Regions from separate parts of the Homo sapiens genome. Here regions 2, 3, 4, 5, 6 and 7 are each linked to region 1. Evidence: promoter capture Hi-C in 16 types of primary human blood cells and fetal thymus (Javierre and others, 2016). All regions are on one chromosome and are shown on one strand. The core of a region is centred on a gene start or on the middle of the fragment in contact, and the rest is flanking DNA. Distances in the headings are between cores, read along the strand shown.

Region 1 (3,550 bases), core at 551-3,050:
AAGAAGACAGAAGTTAAAATAAGAGAAATACCTGTCCTTTCTGGTGGGCTATACCAATGCATGTTTTTGGGTATGGTGATACACCGTCTCCACAATCCCACTGTGCCATTGTATCGAAAAAGTGCATCATTATAAGTCTTTTCATCTGCCTCATCACTAATGAATTCATCCCAGATGCTTTTATTCAAATCACTGGAATTTTCTTGAACTGGACTTCGATATTCATACCAGAAGTCTGTGCCAATGGAGGCTGCCATGTAGATGGTGGAAATGAGGCTAAGCACACAAGCAATTACAAATGCTGTAGCAAAACGGTTATCCATTCTGGCATTCAGACTGCTCTGTTTAGAAGTTGAAGAAAGAAGATAAGTTAGAGTTTACGGACAAATAAGAAAGATTATTTTGAATTATTCCAAATGCACCCTTTACCCAATTCCCCATCCCTTCGTACATATAACCATTAAGAATTTTTTTTAGAAAGCAAGCATGTTTTTAATTAAGCTTAAAACAAAACTCATTCTCATAAAAGTACTTATTGAATGCTCACATACCCAGGATGCTACGGAGACAGAGGTCTTGTTCTCTAGTCTATCACCTGCATACTAAAACAGACAACACTGAAATGGACATACACATTACAGATACAAACAATAGACATGCCCATGGTCAGCAGTGTACCGTGCACACATTTTAAATTACAGACTGAATTTTTGCACGAGCTGCAGAGGATTAAGTGTTCTGGGTTTGAGTGTTAAAAAGGCACAGGAAAAAGAAGCAGTGGAAATTGGCTTCTCCCAGTTTCCTCTGAAGAGGGAAGCCTCCTAAAACAAAGGTAAGAGTCAGGAGCCATACAGAAAACAGAGTTGAAGATGTTTGTTAACCCCGAGGGAAAGGTTGTTCTAGGTGTATAAAATAGCAAAGAGAACAATAACATGTAATAATGCTAGATAGCAATCTCTCCCTAATCCATTAAAGCTAAGCCAAGCTTCTTTACGCTGCCAAATGCTTCACTCCTATCTACTCTCCCGATTCCTTATACTTCTGAACCTCCTCAACAGAAATCTTGCTCTCTCCCTAAATCCTCAGTGCAACATACGTCCGCAAAAACTAAATGATCCCTCCTCAGCCAGACAGAAAACTCTCAACATATCAACACTCCCAAGGCGTGGACAGGGCTCAACGGCAGTAGTAAATGGCCGCGGTAAAATGACTCAAGGCAGATCGCGCTGAGTCAAATACTACACGGCAAGTATACACCGTGACCGCACCAAACACCTTACAAAGGTTCATGAAAACAGACTCGCAAACTGGGGTTGCTGAGTTTGGAAAATGGGAAGTGACTCAGGAAAGATAAGAGCAATGACAACGAAAACTCAAAAAGTTGGATTTGTATTTTGATTTTTTAAAAATCCCCCCTTCATCCTGGTGCTCTCAAATGACCTTAAAGGGTCCCAGCACTGGGAACGGCGGTTCGTCCAAGCCGGACGCCTGCAGCAGCCACCTCCTGGGCCTCACGGCGGGGCCGGAGAAGGCCAGGGCTGGGGCGGGGCAGCCGTGCTCGGCCCCGGGCCAGGGTCCCCCGGTACCCGACCAGGCCCCGCCCTAGAGGGCTCGGCCCTGGGACAAATCCGCCGCTCGGAACCCGCCCAGCCCGACCACGCCCGGGAAGGGGGCCCCTCTTCAAACCGCCGGGAACATGGAACCGCGACGCGACCCCTGCCCGGCGACGCAGGTCCCGCTCACTCACCGCCCATCCTCCTGCTCCGCCAGCTTCACCCTCTAGCTCAGACCACAGCACCCTACTCTCCCCGCGCCTCCTCTGACGCACTTCCCTGCAGAGCCCGCCCCCTCCATAACTCCCGCGCCTCCGCCCGCCCCCACTCCGGGCCGGGCCGCGGCCCGGGGCCGAGGGGCCTTGTGGGAGTTGTAGGAGGGACAGACTGAAAGCTGTCTGAGGCGGCGATAGGCATTCCTGGCGCCGCGCGCGGCGCATTGTGGGAGATGTAGTTCAGCTCCTCAGGGCAAGCCGGTACGCAGAAGGGAAGTCTAGGCTGTTGGATTCTTGCATTTTAGGGAGGAAGGGAGAATGGTCCAGAAAGTAAAGCGGGCCTGTTTCCGGTCATCTCGAGTCAATGACCGTGACTTGTATAACTTAGATCTGACTTTTAGGCCTGTGCTTTCCCTATCACACCACCCTGCCTCTAGATCTAAGTATAAATGAACAAAAATGGGATTCTACTTGTGAAACGTTGACCCATTTTATTTCCCTCTCCCAGAATCCCTCCCATTGGAGCAGAGCATCCTTCTGGTTTTATTGCATAAGTTTAGGCTAAGAAGTATGTGACCTGGCAGACAGTATCCATCAAGAATGTAATGATATTATTTGGGTTTCATAAAATGTGTTTGTAGCTGCCTTCTTTTTATGACAAGTGATACTAGTTTTCTATTGCAGCAATGTTGTTCCTTTTAAATTCTTTTCACTTATTTTAAAAACTATTAAGTTAATAATACTGAGGATACCAGATATGTCAAAAAATGAATAAAAAATTGTGGGTATAGTAGGAAAAAGACTGAAATTTGGGGAACATCACTCAAGCAGATAAGGTCATGGACAGCATTGGAGATTGCAGATGATGTGTGGCACAGGGGCAACAATGATTCTGAACCCTCAGGTTTAACACAGAAATTCATGGACAGGAAGCAGGGACATCTTAACAATAACATGAGTGGAACTATTAACGTGGCCTGGGACCAGCAAATGGTGGATTTCTCAACAGTAACCGACAGAGAAAGCTGACTCAAGGACCAGAGGGGCTCTCAAACCCCCACTCTGTCCCCTAATGCCTTGTAATTTAGCATAGGAGAAAGATGGGAGCTGCAAGTTGATATTAAATTTCTACCACTTTGACAGATTAAAGGCATGATATGTTTCTCTATCTGTACTTACATTTCTTTGACCTGAGTGGGTGAAACTGATATTCATATGCAGCACATAATAAGGTAGTAGCCAAATATATTCAAACATGACTCTGGATTTTCATATACAGCATATAATCAAAAAAAAATTTGTCAGAGGCACCAACTAGAGAAAGTGATGGAGAGGCACAGGCAAATTGTCAATGTGTAGTAAGACACATAAATGCCCTTATACTCCAGGAAATGTCTTCATCCATTGGCCTTCATTAGAAATCCCCTATTTTCCGCCGGGCATGGTGGCTCACGCCTGTAATCCCAGCACTTTGGGAGGCCGAGGCGGCAGATCACGAGGTCGGGAGATCGAGACCATCCTGGCTAACACGGTGAAACCCCGTCTCTACTAAAAATACAAAAAAATTAGCCAGGCGTGTTGGTAGGCGCTTGTGGTCCCAGCTACTTGGGAGGCTGAGGCAGGAGAATGGCATGAACCCGGGAGGCGGAGCTTGCAGTGAGCCAAGATCACGCCACTGCACTCCAGCCTGGGCGACAGAACAAGACTCTGCCTCAAAAAAAGAAATTCCCCACTTTCAGATTTACCTCTCCACTGAGATCATGTGGTCAGTAAACCAGGCAA
Region 2 (3,550 bases), core at 753-3,252, 1.9 Mb after region 1:
GGTTGACTGGTGTCCAAACCTTCCAGCCAGTGCACAAATCTGCTTATATTAAGCATGTACATATAGAACAGCTCTATTCTCTTTCAGCTGTCTGATGTTTTCATTCTGTTTTTCCTTACTGAAAAATTACTGAAAAGAATTGTCTACATCTGTTACTTATTTGGCACCCATTTCATCCAAAATCTGTTGTAATCTAGTTTACAACTTTATAATTAGGCTGAAAGTGCTTTAGAAGTCATAAAATTCATTGTGGTTTTTTTGTGGGTGGGGGAGGTTGGCTGTCACCCACTTTTACTTGATACCACTGATTATTCTCTCCTTGAAATGTTCTTTTCCTTGGCTTCAGGAGAATAGAGTCTTCTGGTTCTTCTACGCTCTGACCAAACTCTAGATCAGTGCTGTCCATCACAGCTTTCTATGATGCTGGAAATGATTTATATTTATGATGTCCAATATGGTAGCCACTAGCCACATGTGGCTATTGAGCACTTGAAATGTAGTGTGACAAAGACTACAGTTTTCATTATTTAATTGATTTAAGTAGTATCATGTGGCTAATGACTACCATATTGGACAGCACAGCTCTAGATATTCCTCAAGTGAGGAATTTATTAGAATATGTCTTCTTCTTTATCTTCAATCTCTCCATTAGTAACCAAAGTAAATCTCATTGCTTCAGGTACCATTTCTGTGCAGATAATCACTGTCTATATATCTTTTGGCATAGCTTCCCTTTTTACCTCTAGCCCTATATTTCTTACTACTTACTGAGCAGTTTTGCTTGGATTCCTGACTTTTGTCAAAAATATAACTCATCATTTTCCCCACTCATTCTTTCTCTTTGTGTTATCCTTTTTTTTTTTTTTTTTCCAAGATGGAATTTCGCTCTGTTGCCCAGGCTGGAGTGCAGTGGTGTGATCTCGGCTTACTGCAACCTCTGCCTCCTGGGTTCAAGCGATTCTCTTGTCTCAGCCTCCCGAGTAGCTGGGACTACTGGCGCCCGCCACCACACCTGGATAATTTTTTGTATTTTTAGTAGAGACGGGGTTTCACCGTGTTAGCCAGGATGGTCTCGATCTTCTGACCTCGTGATCCGCCCGCCTCGGCCTCTCAAAGTGCTGGGATTACAGGCATGAGCTACTGTACCCAGCCTGTGTTATCCATTTTTTCTAATAATACCACTATTACCTTAGCAGTTACTCATATTTGAAACCATAGACCTTTTTAGACCTCTCTCTTTTTCATCCTTACCTACCCAAGCACAAATGATTATGCTGTTGTATTTATATACACACATAAACACAAAATCAGCTGTGAAGTCTTCAACAAATTCAACTTTGTTGTAATATCTTTCTTATAGTTTTTTCACCCATTCTGACACTTCTTAGTTCATATAAGTGAAAACTCCTAAGAGTATGTATAACACATAACAGATACTCAATAAATAGTTTCTTCCCATCTTAGTACAGGCTGCTATAACAAAAATATCATAAAACTACTTAGCTAATAAACTATAGAAATTTATTTCTCACAATTCCTGAGGATGGGGGTTTGAGATCAGTGTGCCAGCATGGTCAAATTCTGTAAGAGCCCTATTCTGGGTTGAGGACTGCAAATTTGGTTTGTGTCCTCAAATAGTGGAAAGGGGCAAGAAAGTTCTCTGGAGTCTCATTTTTATAGGGGCACTCATCCTATTTTTAAGGGCTCCATCCTCATGATCTAATCACTTCCCAAAGGCCTCAACTCCTAATACTATTACATTCCCCTCTTTTTTCTCTTTTATTCATTTCCTTCATCTTGCCTAAATCCTATATTTGCTTGCTTCCCAGATAATTTCTCTGCCTCTAGTGCCTCTCTTCTATGTGTCACCCTGCACCTTGATATCAATTTACTCTTCCTATAGCATAACTGTAATTTCACTCTTGAGCTGAAAGACTTTTAAATCCTCTTCACTTTCACTATAAAGTTCAACATTTCTGCCCACCCATGCCTCCCTTCATACACCTCTTCTCTTTCTTTGGTCTACGATATTAGCACCTAGCACTATTAGAAATTACCTATGTGGGCCGGGTGCAGTGGCTTGTGCCTGTAATCCCAACACTTTGGGAGGCCGAAGCGGGTGGATCACCTGAGGTCAGGAGTTCAAGATCAGGCTGACCAACATGGTGAAACCCTGTCTCTACTAAAAATACAAAAATTAGCCGGGCATGGTGGCACATGCCTGTAATCCCAGCTACTCAGGAGGCTGAGGCAGGAGAATCGCTTGAACCCCAGAGGCGGAGGTTGCAGTGAGCCGAGATTACCCTATTATACTCCAGCCTGGGTGACAGAGTGAGATGCCGCCTCAAGAAAAAAAAAACCTCTCAGGTGTACACTTGTCTGTGGGAAAAATAAAAAAATAGTGTGATCCCCTCAATAGGATGTAAGCCCCACGAGGACAGAAACTGTTCATTTTGTACAGCCAGAGCCCAGAATATAGGTGGTGTGATGGGTAATTTCATGTGTCAATTTGACTGGGCCATGGGATACCCAGATACTTGTTTAAACATTATAAATGTGTCTGTGGTGGTGTTTTTGATTGCTTGATTTTTATTTTTTTATTTTTATTTTTTGAGATGGAGTCTTGCTCTTGTTGCCCAGGCTGGAGTGCAATGGCATGATCTCGGCTCACTGCAACCTCCGCCTCCCGGGTTCAAGCGATTCTCCTGCCTCAGCCTCCCAAGTAGCTGGAATTACAGGTGCCCGCCACCATGCCTGGCTAATTTTTGTATTTTTAGTAGAGACGGGGTTTTGCCATGTTGGCCAGGCTGGTCTTAAACTCCTGGCCTCATGATCCGCCTGCCTCAGCCTCCCAAAGTGCTGGGATTACAGGCATGAGCCACTTCGCCTGGCTGATTTTTATTTTTAGTGTATCTATTGTCGGTTTTTGCTTCAAAAAACATAGATATTACAGGTTATTTTAGACTGATAACAAGTTAACTTTGATTATTTACACATACACATGCAAACTACACTTTAACTCCACTTCCTTTCCTCAATATTTTGTGCTTTCAATTTCACAATTTAAGTATTTTTATATTGCATATCCATCAACAAGTTGCTGTAGTTATTAATTTTAATACTTTTATCTTTTAGCCCTACTAAAGATACGTGATTTACACACCCTCATTACAGTATTTAAATGCTACCATTACAGTATCAGAGTATTATAAATTAAATTTAGCTATGTACGTATTTTTGCCAGGGAGTTTTATACTTTCAGATGTTTCTGTGTTTATCATTAGTGTCCTTTCAGCTTGAAGAACACCCTTTAGCATTTCTTGTAAGACAGGTCTGGTGGTGATGAACTCCCTCAGATTTTGTGTGACTAGGAAAGTCTTTATCTCATGTTCATTTCTGAATGACAGTTTTGCTGAGTACAGTATTCTTGATTGACAGTCTTTTTTTTCCTTTAGCACTTTGACTATATCATACCACTCTTCCCTGGCCTGTAAGATTTCTGTTGAGAAATCTGCTGCTAGGCATATTGGAACTGCCGTATATGTTACTT
Region 3 (3,550 bases), core at 451-2,950, 1.8 Mb after region 1:
CTTTGGATCCTTTACTGCTGCGTCCCACCAGACCATAAGCAGGAACTATGTATCCATCAGGGTCCAGACAGGACATGGAAACAACACTAGTAACTCGAACAAGGAAAATTATTTATTTATTTATTTATTTTTTTGGAGACTGAGTCTCACTCTGTCGTCCAGGCTGGAGTGCAGTGGCGCGATCTTGGCTCACTGTAACCTCCAACTCCCAGGTTCAACTGATTCTCCTGCCTCAGCCTCCTGAGTAGCTGGGATTACAGGTGCCCACCACCACACCTGGCTAATTTTTGTATTTTTAGTAGAGACGGGGTTTCACCACGTTGGCCAGGCTGGTCTGAAACTCCTGACCTCAGGTGATCACCTGCCTTGGCCTCCCAAAGTGCTGGGATTACAGGCGTGAGCCATCACACCCGGCGGAAAATTTTATATAAAAAATTATTATCTGGCCAGGCGTGGTGGCTCATGCTTATAATCGCAGCAGTTTGAGAGGCTGAGGCAGGAGGATCGCTTGAGCCCAGGAGTTCGAGACCAGCCTGGGCAACAAAGTGAGACCCTGTCTCTACAAAAAATTACATAATTAAAAAATTAGCCCGGCATGGTGGTGCATACCTGTGGTCCCAGCTACATAAGAGGCTGAGACAAGAGGATTGCCTGAACTGAGTAGGTCAAGGCTGCAGTGGACCATGTTTGTGCCACTGCACTCCAGCCTAGGCGACAGAACAAGGCCCTGCCTCAAAATAAAAAATATTAGCTAATGGAAAGTGATTATCATAAAAGCTAAAAGGGAACTTTAAAGAACAGAAGAAAAGCAAATATGATGTATAGCTACTACCTCCAGGAAGAAATAAGCTTGGAAGAGCCCCCAACCTCCTTGCTCCAGGGCTGAGCACAGACCTTGTCAGGGCTGGCTACATAATTTGTGGGGCCCAGTTCCCTTGTTCAGATAGCAAGAGAAAAGTGCTGTTAGCTTTTCCTTCTGCAGTATCTCTTTCAACCTCTCATGGTGTTATTTGCTGTTTAATATCATGTTCTCTTGGACACATGAATACTTATGGGGTAAGTGCAGACTTTTAGAGGTGCCTGGGACCCCTGTCCTGTGAATAGGCATGTGTGCAGCTCACTGGCTGCCAGGTTTTCCCTCTGCCAGCAGCGGGATCGATGTGCTGTGACCCAGCCAGTAGTGGGGAAACTGAGACAGACATCTTCCCTTCCCATGAGCTGGGCTGCTCATGGGAATTATGTGAGCAGCTTCCAAGGAATCACACTTTCTGTGCTGGGACATACTCAGTATATGGATTGGAGGTAGACGAGAGGCCCATGAACAAACAGTAAGGGACAGGACCATATTCAAACCCAGTCTTTTTACTTTAAGCCATATTCTCATTTCATTCCCTACACTGCGTAGTAAGAAGCTGGTTCACTCTAGATTCTTGTGCCTGGCATGGGACTTTGCCCATGGATATTGCTCTATCTCCAGATAGATTTTAGACTATTGACATTTTGGACAGGATAATTCTTCGTTGTGTTATGGAGGGGGTTGTCCTATGCATTGTAGGATGTTTGGCAGTATCCTTGGTCTCTATTCATTAGATGCCACTCATACCTCATCAGTTGTGGCATCAAAGGTATCTTCAGACATTGTCAGATGTCCCCCCGGGGACATAACTGCCTTCCATTTGAGAACTATGGCTCTGTCTGAATCCAGCAGTTCGATCTTCTGATAGCTGTTTTCTTTTGTCTTTGTTCTCAGCTTTCCGCTTGGCCCTCATCCAGCTTCAGATTTCTTCCATCAAATCAGATAACGTCACTCGCGCTTGTAGCTTCATCCGGGAGGCAGCAACGCAAGGAGCCAAAATAGTTTCTTTGCCGGTCAGTATGGGAGCAGCCATTCTGTTCTAGCCACTGTACACCCAAGCAGAACGGTGTTTGCTAGCTCTGGTTGTCCTCTTGTATCCTGGGGTCCAGCAGTGTCCCTTGGAGCCCATAGATTGTTCCGAGTCTGACTGGAGGATGACCTTAGCAAGGTTCTTTGTGAGATAGGATGTGCCAACACGGTCATAGGTCTTTAGGTTTTGGATCTTCCTCTTTGTTCAGATGAGGAAGCCAAAATCCTAGTATATTGAGGGACTTACGGAAAACTAAAATACTCAGTGCTTGGATACTTTGTTCCTTATTTAACTAAGTCTTTATAGAACCAGAACATATTGGTTTTAGCACTAAGCCTCCAACATTTTTTTTTTAAATGAGCTCTGGGAGAACACCTGTGATTTGTCTCCTCCAACCCACTAGGCTAGCTTTGTAGTCTTACCTGTGGCTACAGGCTCTTTACCCTTGAGATGTCAGTGTTTTTCTTATTAGCTGTGTTTTAACCCTTCGACTGAAAGCAGAGCTAGAAGCAGCAGCTATGGCCTCTTACAGCAGAACTTTAAAATGGGTGGGTGTTTTGATCTTTTTTTTTCTCTGCCAATATTTTTCTAGGAATGCTTTAATTCTCCATATGGAGCGAAATATTTTCCTGAATATGCAGAGAAAATTCCTGGTGAATCCACACAGAAGCTTTCTGAAGTAGCAAAGGAATGCAGCATATATCTCATTGGAGGTAACTTCCTACCCACAAGGTATAATGACCTAAACATTAGAAACATCTGAATGAGTCAGGTGTGGTGGCGTGCGCCTGTATTCCCTACTTGGGAAGCTTCAGCTTGGGAAGCTGAAGCAGAGAGTTTCTTTTTCTTATTTATTTATTTTTTTTGAGGTGAGGTCTTGCTTTGTCACCCGTGCTAGAGTACAGTGGTGTGATCATGGCCCACTGCAGCCTCACCCTACGAGGCTCAAGTGATTCTCCCACCTCCTGAGTAGCTAGGACTGCAGGTGTGCGCCACCATGCCTGGCTGATTTTTGTATTTTTTTGTAAAGACAGAGTTTCACCTTGTTGCCCAGGCTGGTTTTGAACTCCTAGGCTCAAGCAGTCTGCCCACCTTGGCCTTCCAAAGTGCTAGGATTACAGGTGTGAGCCATCATGCCAGGACTGTTTTTTACTATACTAATAGAGGATTGAGAAAAAAAATTTTTTTCCATAGAGGCCACATACATAAAGGTAGCTTTATTTTTGTGGTTTTGGAATAAATGTTTAAAGGTTTTATTTGCTTAAATAAAAAATAAACACAGAAAAATTCTATAAATATAGCAAATACAATTTTTTCTGTATGATGATATATTAAGAATTAGAAATGAAGGCAAAGCAAGAAGCCTGGAGATGAAACTGCATTCAGTGATGGAGAGGCTTCTGACTTTACGTTCTCATCTTTTGGGACACAGTTTTGTTGCAGAACCTGGTGAATTCAAGTTAAGCAATGGGAAATTTCTCATTTTGCCCTAATGTTACAGATTAAGTGTTACTCAAGATCATGGCTGAATTTCAGGAACAGTTTGGTTATTTTTTAAACCTGTCTTTGGCATCTAACCTAATCATATCCCATCTACACTCTGGAGTTTATCTCTGAAAGATCATATTCAAGAAGGAAAAAAAAAACCATGATTAAGTAACCCA
Region 4 (3,550 bases), core at 521-3,020, 1.8 Mb after region 1:
AGGAGTGAAGAAGTCAAGGGTGTTGTCAAGAATGTGCTTTAAGTTTTGGGCCATGGAATCAAGACAGAGGACATAAAGTGAAGCCACATGAAGGCTTTTCTAACGAATCCATGCCACCCTTCCATCCCTTACCTTTGTCTCCATCCACAGGGAGTATGGGGAGGATACTTACTCCCTCAAATTAATTATTTTCTCCACTCAAAAATTGAGCCACATGTTTTTATATCTTTTAAGTTACTTCCAAGTTTATCATACTGTAAACCTTTAAAATACAGTTTGTTGTCAGCTATAAGTTGAACTTGTTTCGCCTGTTTATCCTTCCAATATTCAGTATTGGAGAACTAAAATGAGACAGATAAAGTAGTACATGTGCCACATTGTTTCCTACTTAATGATTCTGTAAAGTATCCTTTCTTAAGTAGCAGTTACTTAATACGCTAGAGAAGTAATATGTTTGAGAACATGCAGTATTTCGTTTTCTGTTCCTCCTTTAGTTTGCTAGTGATAATGGCCTCCAGAGATGACACAAACAAATGGAAAAACATTCCATCCTCATGGATAGGAAGAATTAATATTGTTAAAATGGCCATACTGCCCAAAGCTGAAGGGGTGGGTTGCCCCTCCACACCTGTGGGTGTTTCTCGTTAGGTGGAACGAGAGACTTGGAAAAGAAAAAGACACAGAGACAAAGTATAGAGAAAAAAATAAGGGGACCCAGGGAACCAGCGTTCAGCATATGGAGGATCCCGCCAGCCTCTGAGTTCCCTTAGTATTTATTGATCATTTTTGGGTGTTTCTCAGAGAGGGGGATGTGGCAGGGTCATAGGATAATAGTGGAGAGAAGGTCAGCAGATAAACACGTGAACAAAGGTCTCTGCATCATAGACAAGGTAAAGAATTAAGTGCTGTGCTTTAGATATGCATACACATAAACATCTCAATGCCTTACAGAGCAGTATTGTTGCCCACATGTCCCACCTCCAGCCCTAAGGCGGTTTTCCCCTATCTCAGTAGATGGAACATACAATCGGTTTTATACCGAGACATTCCATTGCCCAGGGACGGGCAGGAGACAGATGCCTTCCTCTTGTCTCAACTGCAAAGAGGCATGCCTTCCTCTTGTACTAATCCTCCTCAGCACAGACCCTTTACGGGTGTCGGGCTAGGGGACGGTCAGGTCTTTCCCTGCCCACGAGGCCATATTTCAGACTATCACATGGGGAGAAACCTTGGACAATACCTGGCTTTCCTAGGCAGAGGTCCCTGCAGCCTTCCGCAGTGTTTGTGTCCCTGGGTACTTGAGATTAGGGAGTGGTGATGACTGTTAACGAGCATGCTGCCTTCAAGCATCTGTTTAACAAAGCACATCTTGCACAGCCCTTAATCCATTTAACCCTGAGTTGACACAGCACATGTCTTGGGGGTAAGGTTATAGATTAACAGCATCTCAAGGCAGAAGAATTTTTCTTAGTACAGAACAAAATGGAGTCTCCTATGTCTACTTCTTTCTACACAGACACAGTAACAATCTGATCTCTCTTTCTTTTCCCCACAAAAGCAATTTGTAGATTCAGTGCTATTCTCGTTACACTACCATTGACATTCTTCACAAAACTAGAGAAAACTATTTTAAAATTCGTATGGAACCAAAAAAGAGCCCAAATAGCCTAGGCAATCCTAAGCAAAAAGAACAAAACTGAAGGCATCACGCTACCTGACTTCAAACTACACTACAGGGCTAAAGTAACCAAAACAGCAGGATACTGGTACAAGAACAGACACATAGACCAGTGGAACAGAACAGAGGACCCAGAAATAAGACTGCACACCTACAACTGTCTGATCTTCAATAAACCTGACATAAGTAATGGGGAAAGGATTCCCTATCTAATAAATGGTGCTGGGATAACTGGATAGCCATATGCAGAAAATTGAAACTGGATCCCTTCTTTACACTATATACAAAAATCAACTCAAGATGGAAGCCTAAAAACTATGAAAACCCCATAATAAAACCCAGGGAATACTATTCAAAATTGTATTTTCAGTATGATTGAGTTTATTATAAATATAGATGTCTATATGTAAATATATGTCTATATATATGTCTATAAATACACACATGAGAAACTGAAAAGTGATTCACAAAAAGTGATTATCTCATGGTAATGGAATTGTGGTTGGTTTTTAATTTTTTTAATGCATTGGCAAAATTCTTTAAAATGATTATGATTAAAAATTCATTTTAAGAAAGTAAGCTGTTGTTCAGTAACAATAACAAAAGAAATAGTATTCATGGATTCTGTTTATTAAGGAATTATGTAGCCAAGCATTGCCCTGAATTTTTTGTGTTCAGAAACTTATTTAAGCATTAACTGACCCTATAAGATAAGCATTGTGGTGCTTTTTCCTTTTGTAAGGTCACATGGCTGTTGAAGGGCCAAAATTGAAACCCAGGTCTGACACTAAAGCTCAAATTTATGAATTTTTATAATACGTTAAATAGAGTTGATTTTTTTAAATTGTGGTAAAATATACATAATGTAAAAAGTTTACCATCTTGACCATTTTTCAGTGTACATTAGTATTGAGTACATTTACATTGTTGTGCATATAATCTCTAGAATGCTTTTCATCTTGCAGAACTGAAACTTTGTATCTGTTAAAGAGCTCCTCATTCTCCCCTCCCTCTGCCCTGGTAACCGCTCTCTAAATTTACTACTCTAGGTACCTCACATAAGTGGCATTGTATAGTATTTGTCTTTTTGGGACGGATTTATTTCACTTACCGTAATGTTGTCAAGGTTCATCTATGTCGTAGCATGTGTCAGAATTTCCTCCCTTTTTAGGCTGTATAATAGTCCATTATATATTATATATAATATATATTCTATAATATGTAATTAACTTATTAATTACATATATAAATTAATAAACATATATAATATGATAAATATATAATATTTGTTTATTAATTACATATATCTATGCATACAGTACACACCCCCCCCCTTTTTGTTTATTCATTCATCCCTCAGTGAACGGACACTTGGGTTGCATTCACCTTTGGGCTACTGTGGATAATGCTGCTGTGAACATGTGTATACAAAAGTCTCTTTCAGACTCTGCCTTCAATTCTTTCAGACATTTCAGGATATGGAATTGCTGAATTGTATGAGACATGTATTTTTAATTCTTTGTGGAACTGTCATACCGTTTTCCATAGTGGCTGCGTCATTTTGCATTTCCACTAACTGTACACAAGGGTTCACATCTTTGTCAACCTATGTTTTTTGAAAGTAGTAGTCATCCTCATGAGTGTGACAGGTTCTTTGGTTTGGTTTTATTATTTTGTGTTTTTTTTTTGTTTGTTTGCTTTTTGAGACAAGGTCTTGTTCTGTAGCCTGTTTTTTGAGACAGGGTCTCGTTCTGTAGCCCAGGCTGGAGTGCAGTGGTATGATCTTGGCCTTACTGCAGCCTCTGCCTCCTGAGCTCAATTGATCCTCCTGCCTCAGCCTGTTGAGTAGCTGGGACTACAGCTGCATACCAC
Region 5 (3,550 bases), core at 463-2,962, 1.7 Mb after region 1:
GTTTTGCTCTTGTCACTCAGGCTGGAGTGCAATGGCACAATCTTGGCTCACTGCAACCTCCGCCTCCTGGGTTCAAGTGATTCTCCTGCCTCAGCCTCCCAAGTAGCCGGGATTACAGGCGCATGCCACCACACCTGGCTCATTTTTGTATTTTTAGTGGAGACGGGGTTTCACCATGTTGGCCAGGCTGGTCTCGAACTCCTGACCTCAGGTGATCCACCCGCCTCAGCCTCCCAAAGTGCTGGGATTACAGGCATGAGCCACTGCGCCCGGCCAAATTCATAGTCTTTAAATAAAACCTGAAAAATATGGAAAGAATAAAGAAGACAATGAACATCACTTAAAATGTCCCTGCTGTATTTTGGCTTTGGATCTTTCTATTCTTTTACCTGTGTATACATATATGTATGTATATTCATTCCCTTATCCTAACCTTAACACCACACCATGCCCCTAGGTCTGAAAGTCGTAATTATAATTCAACCCAGGAAATGTATGCAACTCGAAGGCTCCTATATTGACAGGTAATGAAGGCAGTCTTTATTAAAAGTCCACCTCTTACTCCCAAAATGAATTGGCAATATGAAACTTCTTAAATCTCTTCTTGGATCTTACAGGATTAGGCCCCAAATTTAGTTCTTCCATGTTTATTTTTGTTAATAAATCCTTAGGAGCAACTCCTGTGGCCCTTGCTTGAAGGAAAAGCACCTGACATGTGAATTGGATGACTTTTGACAACGGAAGACAGGGCCATCCTTGAGTATTGGATCATGGAGGCTCCCAATTCCCCTACCTGTGAGTTGAATTCGGAAGCCACATTGAGCAGAACTGAATTTCTGAAATGAATCTGAGTGAGAATAAACCTCCCTAGCAATGTCAGACACCAGGACAAACCAGGTTTGGGGAGCAAGTCTTTAAACAAGAACCATATCTGACTGACTCTATCCAGTGGGGACACATCCCAGGGCAGAATCCCATTTGCTTGAAGTCCAGTATTGGGATAGTGAATCTTTCTCCTCTTAAAAGTTACTGATGCAGTGGCATATGGCTGGCAGACTTCAGTACTTGCTAAAAGAATACCTCATGTGTTTATGTCACACAAACCAGTATGTCTGGACAATGTTACAAATGTAGCTAAGCCACAGAAATAGTTTTCTATACAATATTTTAAAATTTGAGATGGTAAAAGGATAGGAATATAAAACCAGAAGTACATAATACTTGAAAGCAGCTGGTAAAATACAACAGGTGTCCGCAGATTCAAAAGCTATTCTTGGTAAAAAGACTCCTAAACAGTCTTCCTAAAATTGCATTATTTTCTAAGCTGCCCCTGACAGATCCCAGGGTCGTTTAAGGGACATAAGGAGCTTGGCAGCCAACTTGCTCCAATGGCTCCCCACTGGAGTTACATGAGTGCCACCTAGTGACACTTGTTAAAGCTGAAGGGGGCCCGGATAGACCATCTAGCTCAATTTACCTCATCTGAGGAAACTGAGGCCCCGATATCAGAGATAACTTAAACAGGGCCACACATCTACCTGGCTAGTGGCTGAGCTAAGGCTAGGAATCAGGCGTCTTGCTTCATGGTTCCCTCAACTGGAGATAATCTCTGGAGTTTGGGAGTCGGGAGTCCTGCCTACTGCACTGTGCCAGAAAATAAAGCCTAAACCTTTCAGGGCCTCAGGTTACCCAGGCATTAAACTCATAAAATAGTATTTGTTTCAAGTCTTTGAGACACATGAGTGTCAGAGAACAGAACCTAAAAGTTGGTAAAAGTGCCCATAGGCATTTAGTCTGCTTTCCTCCACCGTGAGTGACTGCCCCTGAAACAGGTGTACAAGTAATCACATTATTTCCTACAACCAAGGTCCAAAGTCATCAACCTTAATTCAGGGGCAATGCATCAGTTATAGCCTTTTTAGCACCTTCTGCAGGTCTGACACCATCTTAGAGATCAGTTGTAATAAAAGTATCATTGGAACCACTCAAGTTTTGATTTCCAGAAGTCAGATGTTCTGCAGTTCTCCAGTTCGAGTTTCTATTTCAAGATTAGTCTAGGCCAGTGGTCCTCAATGCTGCCTGCACATTAGCACTGCCTAAGAAACTTTTAAAACTCACCTGTGCTTGTGTCTGACCCTAGACCAGCAGAATCAGAATTCCCGGGGGTGACGTTCCCACATCGTTTTATGTGTGTATGTTTTTAAGTTCCTTGGATTATTCCAATGCTAAGAGGATTGAAAAACATAGTGCTGGGCTGAGCTTGTGCTAAGAAAGAGAAAGAAGAGATAAATGTAGGAAAGGTGGGAGGTAGATAAGACCATTCCCTCTAAATCCTGGAACAGAACTTGGTCTGTACTCAAGTGCTCAATAAATGATTGCTGAAACTTGTCCAATGTGAGGTGGTATGATGAGAATGAAGGAGTTCACAATCTATTCATGATTTTAGGATTCTTTATAGCCTCACATAAGAAACATTTACAAAGAACCACAAGTAAACTTAAAAGTAGGAGAAGCCGGTAGACATGTCCATGTAGATCAAGAAGAAATGTTTTAAAACCTGAACACTATTCAAGTCTACATTACTCTCTGCTTTCCTTCTCCTTTCCCATTTTTAACTTCTTGATTCCTCCATTCAACTCACATATTATGTATCTACAGACACATATGATAAAGGGACCGGCTATATTCCAAAAGGCTTTGCTGTCATTCTCTGAGGAAGAGACAACTGAGCTGAGCACTGAAGTAAGAGTAGGAGGTAACTAGATGCTATGTGTACATATGTTGGGGCCCAAAGGTGTGCAGGGCTGGGTGATCTTTCAAGACAGAAGAGACAGCAAAGGCCACATGTTGGGAAAGAGTATGGCTTATTCAAAGAACACAGAGGAGACCAGTATAAGGGAAAGAAGAACATGGTGTGGAAAGGGACTGGAATGTCCAGGAGGGCCTTGTCCATTTGCTTTCATATACATACATACCATGTACCACCATACCATGTACATACCAAATAGGCTGAAGACAAATGGGCTTTCTCTCTGCTGACAGATTATCACAGAATGCTTTGAAAATATTAATACTTTTTAAAATAATAAATGCTTTGAAAATATTAATACTTTTTAAAATAATAATGTTTTTTATGGCAACATTATTGTTATAGTAATAATGGGTTGGAAATGGAGATACAGGAGTTACCAGATTATAAGTGAGAATTAACAACAGAGAATTTATTATTGTCCAGAAAAAAAGTGTGAGCAAAATTATAGAGAATAAATTATTTATCCAAACTTTTGGATGCTTTTGTATCTGTAGTCACTTTTATGTTCATGATATCCTAAGAATTCTTTTTGTTTACTTTTGTATTTTCCTTATGTAAATTTGAGATGTGAAAATGACAATGACAAGCTGTACAATTTAGCTTGGGTATTAGAGAAATCAGCTTGTAAATAACATATCCAGATAAATTGTAATATATACCTATATTTTTAACACAAATTGTCAAAAGCGTATATCATATAATTCCATCCAATTACCTTAGATGATTCCTTGCTAACTA
Region 6 (3,550 bases), core at 513-3,012, 1.5 Mb after region 1:
GGAGAAAGAGGCTGTTATTTAAGTAAATATAATAATTGACTATCAACAGTGCTCCCGACTTGAGTTTTCAAGATAAAATGTAAAGGGTATTGTCCTCAGGTTTTGAAGGTCCAAAACTGCTAAATGTTTAGCCATTGAAGTTTTCTAACCTAAATTTCCTTGTTGGTAAAATGGGTATAATACTTTCTCTGCCTACCTTTCTAGGGTTATTTTCAGGATTAAATGCTTTTAAGGAAGTGAAACTAGTAAAAACTATCGGAGGGAAGTGTTGTTATTTTCTTCTTTTGAGAACAATATATCTTTAAACATTTTTAGAAGAAAAAAAGGTTTTGAATTCCTTGAAGAAAAGGTGCTTCCAAAGCATATTTATTGATGCTATTATTGTAAATCCCTCTTTAAGCTTCATGCATTTAAAAATTAATGACAACTCTCCTCTTCCTTTCTGGAAAGCTTTTATGACTTAACTCCAAATTCTATGTGTTTAAAAAAACTAAAGTATCATGTCCTCCTTAAAGAATACCATTATTATTCATAACCTCTGAAACCAGCGAGGGTCATAAAGCTACTGACTGCGAATGATTAAGTGGCCACAAATAAAACACTGGTATTACCACATGTAAATTCTTTCCCTGCAGTTTATGCCTCCGCAAACAGTGATTCAACTGCAGGTGTCTGTCAAGAGACAGTAGAGTTTTGTCCTTCTGGAAGCCTCACTGTATGTGAAGTCAAGAAACAATGCCCCTGCCACTGTCTAGCTATAGCCTCAATCAAATCATTTCACCTCTCTTAGCCTCTGCTTCCTCTTTTAACTGACAGGGCATTCAGTGGCTGTGCGTCTGGGCCTCACTGCTCTCCCCAGAAGGCATTTGAAAAAAAAAAGGAAGGCATTTTTGGTTGTCAAAATGACAGGGTGGGCGAAAAATGATAGGATGGAGGTAGCTTCTGGCACTTAGTAGGCAAATTTTCTATGGTGAGTTGAGCAGACTCATGAAAGAACGAATTGTCCCTCCTATAGTGTAAATATACCCTCCTAAGAAACACTGGGCCATAGCTTGTGAAAGTGAAAGGGTTTAAATTAGTAGTAAGGGACTGTCCCAGGCAAGCTGGCATATAGGGGCCAAACAGCCACAATCCAAGTCCACTTGTGCTTGCATTGTCTTCCTGCATTCTGGCCCTGTTTGCCCCACAAATGACCAGGTCCCAAGCTCTGCTGAACAGCCCTCAGGGAAGGGGACAGATAGGTCCAGACCAAATCCTTCCACTGTCTTTATTTTACTAGGAAAACTAGCAATAGACTTAAAGTTAACTCACTTGTTTATCCCTTAATTTGGTTATGCTTTAGTCCCAGAGGCCCCTCATTTCTCCCCTTTCCAGACCTTCAGAGCCTTCGGCACTGCCAGCCCTCAAGTATGGCAGCTGCTTGAAGCATTTGCTTGGGGTGAGTTGGGGAAAGAGGAGGAAGAGTAGAGCCAGCTCTTCCCTGCAGCTGTGGCTAACCGAGGCAAGCTGTGACACGGAGCTCACTCCATCTCAGTCAGAGCCCACCCTGAAGCCATATCTGTGGGTGCAAAGTTATTGTGACACAACCCACCACACAGTGTCAGGGGAGAAACTGAGCATGGTAATTGAGGTGCCAGGTGATTCTTGCACCACTTTTTTGGACTGCCATTTAGAGAGGGAAAATAAAAGCCAAATCAGGAATCATTTCCACTCTGTTAACATCTCACTAAAGGAAGCAATCAAGTCCAGGTGGGTTTTATGTTTCTCAGCCCCTGTACATGGACAAAGACTGGGATTCCAGATTTTCCTAACTAGCCCTAGGTTTTTCTCCTAGGACATTTTCTTTCTGCTTCTAAAATTGTATTTTACTCTTTAAAAAAAAATCTGTTGTGCAGAATTATATAAGGTTGATATGATGGCCTAGACTGATTGCTTAAATATGGACTTGGACAGTTATGGAAAAGCACTTTTGTTTGTGTCATGGAATTAAAGTTACCACACACACAATTGTCTATTTTCAAACCTAATGGATTACATCTTATATGAATAAAAGAGTATAGCAAACAAAAGGGCATAAAATTTTTATGCCAGAAACAAAGTCGATGTCTGAATTTAACTGGAAAAAAACTGTAGAAATTTGTGTCTGACAATTGCAAACAGTTCTCTTTCCTTGTTTTTTCTTTTACCTTCTCTCCTTACTATTTGAAGTTATACCTTTGGGAACACATATCTTCTCTACATTATAGAAACGTGGCAATAAATCATGGTAACAAATAAACTGTTCTCTTGTTTCATTTATCATCTGTTTTTGAGGTTTGAGCATACTCAACAAAGATTAGAGGTTAGACTATTGCTCTTCTAGCTTGTTATGAAACCCTAGGGTCTTACCGAACTTACCAAAGTCGATGAAGGATTAATTTGGGGAGAGCTTTTTAAAAAATCACTCAGCATTATAAGGGAGGTTAATATGGCACTAGAGTGTCATATTTTTAAGAGGGAGTCTTCTTTTTATTGATTGATCTATTTATACCTCACTTCCAAAACATATGCAGTACAGAAAATTAAAATAATTCATTGAGGGAATAAAAGTGATTAGAATATAAAGCCAGAGATAATAGTGAGAAACAGAAATAAGTTGACCCTTGAACAACATGGTTTTGAACTCTGTCGACTTCTGCCATTCCTGAGACAGCAAGAGCAACCCTTCTTCCTCCTCCTTCTCAGCCTACTTGAAGAATAATGAATAGTAAATATATTTTCTTAACAAATAGTAAATGTACTTTCTCTTCCTTATGATTGTCTTCTAACATTTTCTTTTCTCTAGCTCACTTTATTGTAAGACTACTGTTTATAATATATATACAACATACAAAATACTTGTTAATTGACTTTTTATTTTATCAATAAGGCTTCTGGTCAACAGTAAGCTACTAGTAGTTAAGTTTGGGGGGAGTCAAAAGTTATATGCGATTTTCAACTGCACAGAGGGTCAGTGACCCTAACTTCTGAGTTGTTCAAAGGACCATATACTGTGTGGTTCTTTACGGTTATTAGAAGTTAATCACTATTTAGCTCTAAGCTTCCTAGTGGCCTAAGTGAAAAGGAACATGCTTTTTTAATCACACAGACTCACCTGTGGAATGAATCTATTAAGGGCATCATGGGGTAGTGTTCGGGGGCAAATTTTTAAAATTTGTTTATTTACCAGCATTTCTGGTAGATCAGTTTCATAGATCAATAAATAAAAAGAAGAATCCTTCTTAAAAATATGACACTGTGGTGCTGTATTAACCTCCCTTATAACTCTGAGTGATTTTTAAATGTGCCCTCTAATGAGTCAGGAACTTACACAGAGAGGGAGTTTGGGCAATATCAGAGAAAGCCATATCTTTTTTAGATTTATGTGAAATGCTCAGTATGAAAATTTTAAATCTCTTAAAATTGATTATAAAATGTTTTAATGCTAAAATAGAATGCTTATCTGATTATGGTAAGATCCAAATTAGATCATAGTCATTTTCTGTTTTTTTAGAGGCATCTCTGTAAATTC
Region 7 (3,550 bases), core at 570-3,069, 1.4 Mb after region 1:
ATATTCTGTGCCAGGACTGTGTGTGTGTGTGTGTGTGTGTGTGTGTGTGTGTGTGTGTGTGTGTGTGTGTGACTGTGGGGCCTGGGGTATCCCATTTTCCATATAGTCAAGTACCTTATCAAGGTACTTCTCAAATTCATAGTTGAATGTTTGCTGTTCTGATGTAATGTATGCTTTCTTTTGCTGATAATAACTCCTTTAGGCTAGAATAAGTAGTTATCATAAACAGACACAAGGAGTTGAGGTATGTCTGCATCCTGTCTGTCCCAATCATACACTTACCTATCTACTCCTCTACTTACCTCCCTACTGCTCCCCTGCCTGCCCCCACAAACACATCATTCCCCAAGCTTGTTTAAAAAAAATTCTATACTTAACAATTTATCATATTTTGGAGCCAGTAGAGCATAGAAATGTGAGGACGGTCAGACTGGAAAAAGAATACTGCTAATGTGTTCTCGTTCTTGGGCTCAGAATTAAAACTGCTGCTGTCCTATCTTAATCTGCTAAAGCATCTCAGAGAACAAGCATGAAGAGGGAGTGTTTCTCATATCTGAAAAAGAAACCAGGGACTTTCCTTGGTAAGCCTTCCCATTTTTGTTTGCCCAGCTTTCCCAGGCAGAGACGATGTTAGTGCAGATGAAGGTCAAGGAGAATCTCAAGTCTTTTTTTTTTTTTAAAAAAAGGAGGGATGTGCAAAGGCTGATAAGTGTTGGTGATAATCTGCTAGGAATTAGTGTACCTAACAAAATGACTCAAAACATGAATGTCCTACCTCATTTTAAGTAGAAAATGACCAGCCATAGGAGGTTCTAAAAGTCATTGCAGCACACTTTAAGCATAAGTGACTGGGTTGGTGGCTAGAAAATGTTGTGGTGATGACAGCAGCAACCACAGAAATATTGCTTTGAAGGTTTGTGATGCTGGCTGCATATGCAGTGTCTCTTCATCTTTAAATCCTTATTTAAATATAATTTACAAAAACTAAACAATCAGTTTAAATTGAAGCTGAATTCATGGTCAAATACAAATTAAATGGACCTTAAAATCGTTTAAAATTAATATGTCCAACAGATAAGGTAGGGTGTATTAGATTTTTCAAAGATGACAGGCTCTGTGAACAACAGATGGGGCCATTTCAGTTCCTGAAGCAGGTTGAGACCAATATTGCCTTACATCCACAATATCCAGTCTTTTATAAACAGTTCTCTTCTTGCCCCTCTTCCTTTTTCCTTTAAATAGGAGGGGCTGTATGTTTTTTTTCTATTCACCTTGTAAAATGTTCACTTTGCCCTGAAGCACTAGACATGGACAGAACATGACCTAAGCAGAATTATTGGAATCTTATTCTTCCTCCTACATTTTCAGTTTTTTTTCTTAAATCTCAAAATCCATTTATTACCAAAGGCACTTTTTTGGAGGGGAAATTACAGCAGAGAACCCTTAAACAAAATTTACAGCCTTTTGAGAAGGCAAATTAATGGGAACTGCAAGAGAACCGGAAAATTAAGTCAAGGCTTGATTTGTGTTTTCATACTGGCTGTTACTATAGTCTCCATCACAGCATTAGGAAAATAGCACAAAAATACCAGGGCTTAACAGTTAAGGTTAATCACCACAAAAGTGCAAATGAACTTACTAAGCATAAAATTATTATGTGCTTTATTTGGAAGTGTAGAAATTCACATTCATTCTATCAAAAACATTTTCCCATCATACAGATTGTCCCAAGGACTAAGAAATTGCTCATCCAAAGAGCCCAGTGTGAGATAGGGTATCCATGATAAGTCATACTTAGCTTTCAGTTTTAAAAGAGGTCTTATGTGATTGTTCTTTGAACCATGCTTTAAAGTTAATAAATGGGAAAAAGTGTGGAATATTAAAGAGTGTTATTTTTAAATTTTAAAAAATCGATGCTTGCCTGCTTTAAAAAAATAAAAGACACTGGGAAACACAGCTGTTAGAATTTTGATGGAAGTTATGATTTTCAACAGTTGAGTTGTAGTTTATGGTACAGATGGTACTCTGGGTATACCTGAAACAATAATTGATGGTTTCTGTTTGTCTCTTCCTCTGTTAGATTCAGAAGAGCAGAATATCTTTTTTCCAGAGCAGGAATTTTTCAGTTTCCAATTACCGCTTATATCAGATAAACAACTCTTCCATTGCATATTCTGTACTTCTCCACAGTGACATGGGTGTTGGCCCCGCTCTTCTCATTATGGTGGGCTTCCCTAGGTTTGAAATAATAGTTTGTGGAAAATCCTACTTCTCAGTACTAACCTGCAGTTTATATAGCCTATCCTCAGGCCAAATAACATATAATTTTTCTTTTAAAATATGAAAACCAAAGTCGTGCATTGCTCCAAACAAAATTAGCAAAAACAAAAAAACTGCTATGAGGCAAAAATGATAGGCACCAATGTCATATACTTTTAAAAACCATCCAACAGAAATTATTAGAAATATACAGATATAACCCACATTTTGAGTATTTTTTAAATGCTGTGTTTCAATGATAAAATCTGGGATCTGACATTTTCTTCTGACAATTAAATATAAAAACATGAGTTTGTAACACACACATACACCTCAGTGGTTATAGTGCTCTGCTCCTCTGTTAAACTTTTACTGTACCTCCAAACAGTTATCTTATATGGTCATTTTAGTGCCAACTAAAATGCCAGCATTTTAAAATCTCAGAGTAAATATAAATGGCAGCCTATGAATTCTGAGTTTGAATTGTATATACTTATAAAACATAGAGACTGTTTTAAAAGGGACAATTCTGTCACATAGTTGTTAAAGTTTTATTTTACAATATATGTTTAGACCAGATAAGGATTGAATGATGAATCAATTTTTCATCTCCTATTCCAGTGTTCTAAAGTTGACATAACCTTTTTATTTTTAATTCCTACGTTGACTTTTAGTTGGAAAAAATGAAGTAAAATATTATGGAGATTTTTCTGCCAAGTGTTCAGTTATCATACTGTAAGAGTTCATTGGTAGCAATAGCCTCTTCAGGATTTAGATGTAACTAATTATGGTTTAAAATGTTACTGATTAATACAGTTACTCTATAAGTTTTACCTTTTAAATTGGCATTTTTTACATAATATACTACTATCCAAAATATTACTCTAGAAATGATAGCTGTAAGTGAGGTTTGTCATTTTTCCAATGCCTGGACTTGAAGCAGAAAGTTAGAACTCAAAACTATGATAGTTACTTCCTTGTACAAATTGACATATGCTTTTACGACAAAATAGCGTTTGTACGATTTTTTGAAGCTTAAAAAGATTTTACTTTTTAAGTTAGATTCGTCTTAATTCCAAGATGTATTCCTAACAGTGTTTTTCTAGTCGTTTATATTAACATTTACAAAAAGAGGGGAAAACCTGGCACTAACAAATTTTCGCATTCTGCTCATGTAAGACAAGCGAGTTTGAGTCCGGAGGAGAGATAGGGTTGCTGCAGTACAATATAGTCTCCCCCACCCTTTCCCCAAAGATTTCTCAATATGGGCAGGATTCAATGTGTAGCTCAC

Evidence for each region. Contacts are between HindIII fragments. The CHiCAGO score rates a contact against its expected background, and 5 or more counts as called.
Region 2: a fragment that was not itself captured here is called in contact with the fragment with the promoter of CLDND1 in region 1 in 4 of 17 cell types (non-activated CD4 T cells, naive B cells, total B cells and 1 more); the score reaches 8.0 in non-activated CD4 T cells.
Region 3: a fragment that was not itself captured here is called in contact with the fragment with the promoter of CLDND1 in region 1 in 1 of 17 cell types (total B cells); the score reaches 12.2 in total B cells.
Region 4: a contact is called between a fragment that was not itself captured here and the fragment with the promoter of CLDND1 in region 1, in 1 of 17 cell types (fetal thymus). The highest score is 5.1, in fetal thymus.
Region 5: a fragment that was not itself captured here is called in contact with the fragment with the promoter of CLDND1 in region 1 in 5 of 17 cell types (fetal thymus, naive CD8 T cells, non-activated CD4 T cells and 2 more); the score reaches 7.5 in fetal thymus.
Region 6: a contact is called between a fragment that was not itself captured here and the fragment with the promoter of CLDND1 in region 1, in 1 of 17 cell types (total B cells). The highest score is 7.5, in total B cells.
Region 7: a fragment that was not itself captured here is called in contact with the fragment with the promoter of CLDND1 in region 1 in 3 of 17 cell types (total B cells, fetal thymus and total CD4 T cells); the score reaches 9.0 in total B cells.

The regions. Positions count from the first base shown.
Region 1 is chr3:98,521,102-98,524,651 of GRCh38, forward strand. It overlaps CLDND1 (claudin domain containing 1), which reads right to left and starts at 1,801. Exons shown (of 5, transcript NM_001040181.2): 1 at 1,748-1,801; 2 at 32-341. The coding sequence starts at 323. CLDND1-AS1 (CLDND1 antisense RNA 1) reads left to right here and starts at 1,469. Exons shown (of 2, transcript NR_198998.1): 1 at 1,469-1,732. RefSeq lists silencers at 1,248-1,357, 1,408-2,047 and an enhancer at 3,250-3,379. The HindIII fragment of the contact is 2,905 bases long and covers 984-3,550 here.
Region 2 is chr3:100,403,940-100,407,489 of GRCh38, forward strand. All of the region lies in intron 1 of LNP1 (leukemia NUP98 fusion partner 1), which reads left to right. Among named protein-coding and RNA genes, the nearest start is that of LNP1, 4.2 kb to the left of the region's middle. The HindIII fragment of the contact is 5,109 bases long and covers 1-3,550 here.
Region 3 is chr3:100,337,337-100,340,886 of GRCh38, forward strand. It overlaps NIT2 (nitrilase family member 2), which reads left to right. Exons shown (of 10, transcript NM_020202.5): 2 at 1,751-1,869; 3 at 2,479-2,599. Among named protein-coding and RNA genes, the nearest start is that of NIT2, 4.4 kb to the left of the region's middle. The HindIII fragment of the contact is 1,707 bases long and covers 848-2,554 here.
Region 4 is chr3:100,271,892-100,275,441 of GRCh38, forward strand. The region is part of intron 1 of TBC1D23 (TBC1 domain family member 23); the gene reads left to right. Among named protein-coding and RNA genes, the nearest start is that of TBC1D23, 13 kb to the left of the region's middle. The HindIII fragment of the contact is 7,791 bases long and covers 1-3,550 here.
Region 5 is chr3:100,252,950-100,256,499 of GRCh38, forward strand. No RefSeq gene overlaps it. Among named protein-coding and RNA genes, the nearest start is that of TBC1D23, 6.3 kb to the right of the region's middle. The HindIII fragment of the contact is 4,896 bases long and covers 1-3,550 here.
Region 6 is chr3:100,046,962-100,050,511 of GRCh38, forward strand. The region is part of intron 1 of CMSS1 (cms1 ribosomal small subunit homolog); the gene reads left to right. The region is part of intron 1 of FILIP1L (filamin A interacting protein 1 like); the gene reads right to left. Among named protein-coding and RNA genes, the nearest start is that of FILIP1L, 66 kb to the right of the region's middle. RefSeq lists an enhancer at 798-887. The HindIII fragment of the contact is 2,629 bases long and covers 449-3,077 here.
Region 7 is chr3:99,872,253-99,875,802 of GRCh38, forward strand. All of the region lies in intron 1 of CMSS1 (cms1 ribosomal small subunit homolog), which reads left to right. The region is part of intron 4 of FILIP1L (filamin A interacting protein 1 like); the gene reads right to left. The region is part of intron 1 of LOC105374010 (a long non-coding RNA gene); the gene reads left to right. Among named protein-coding and RNA genes, the nearest start is that of HP09053, 50 kb to the left of the region's middle. The HindIII fragment of the contact is 2,943 bases long and covers 349-3,291 here.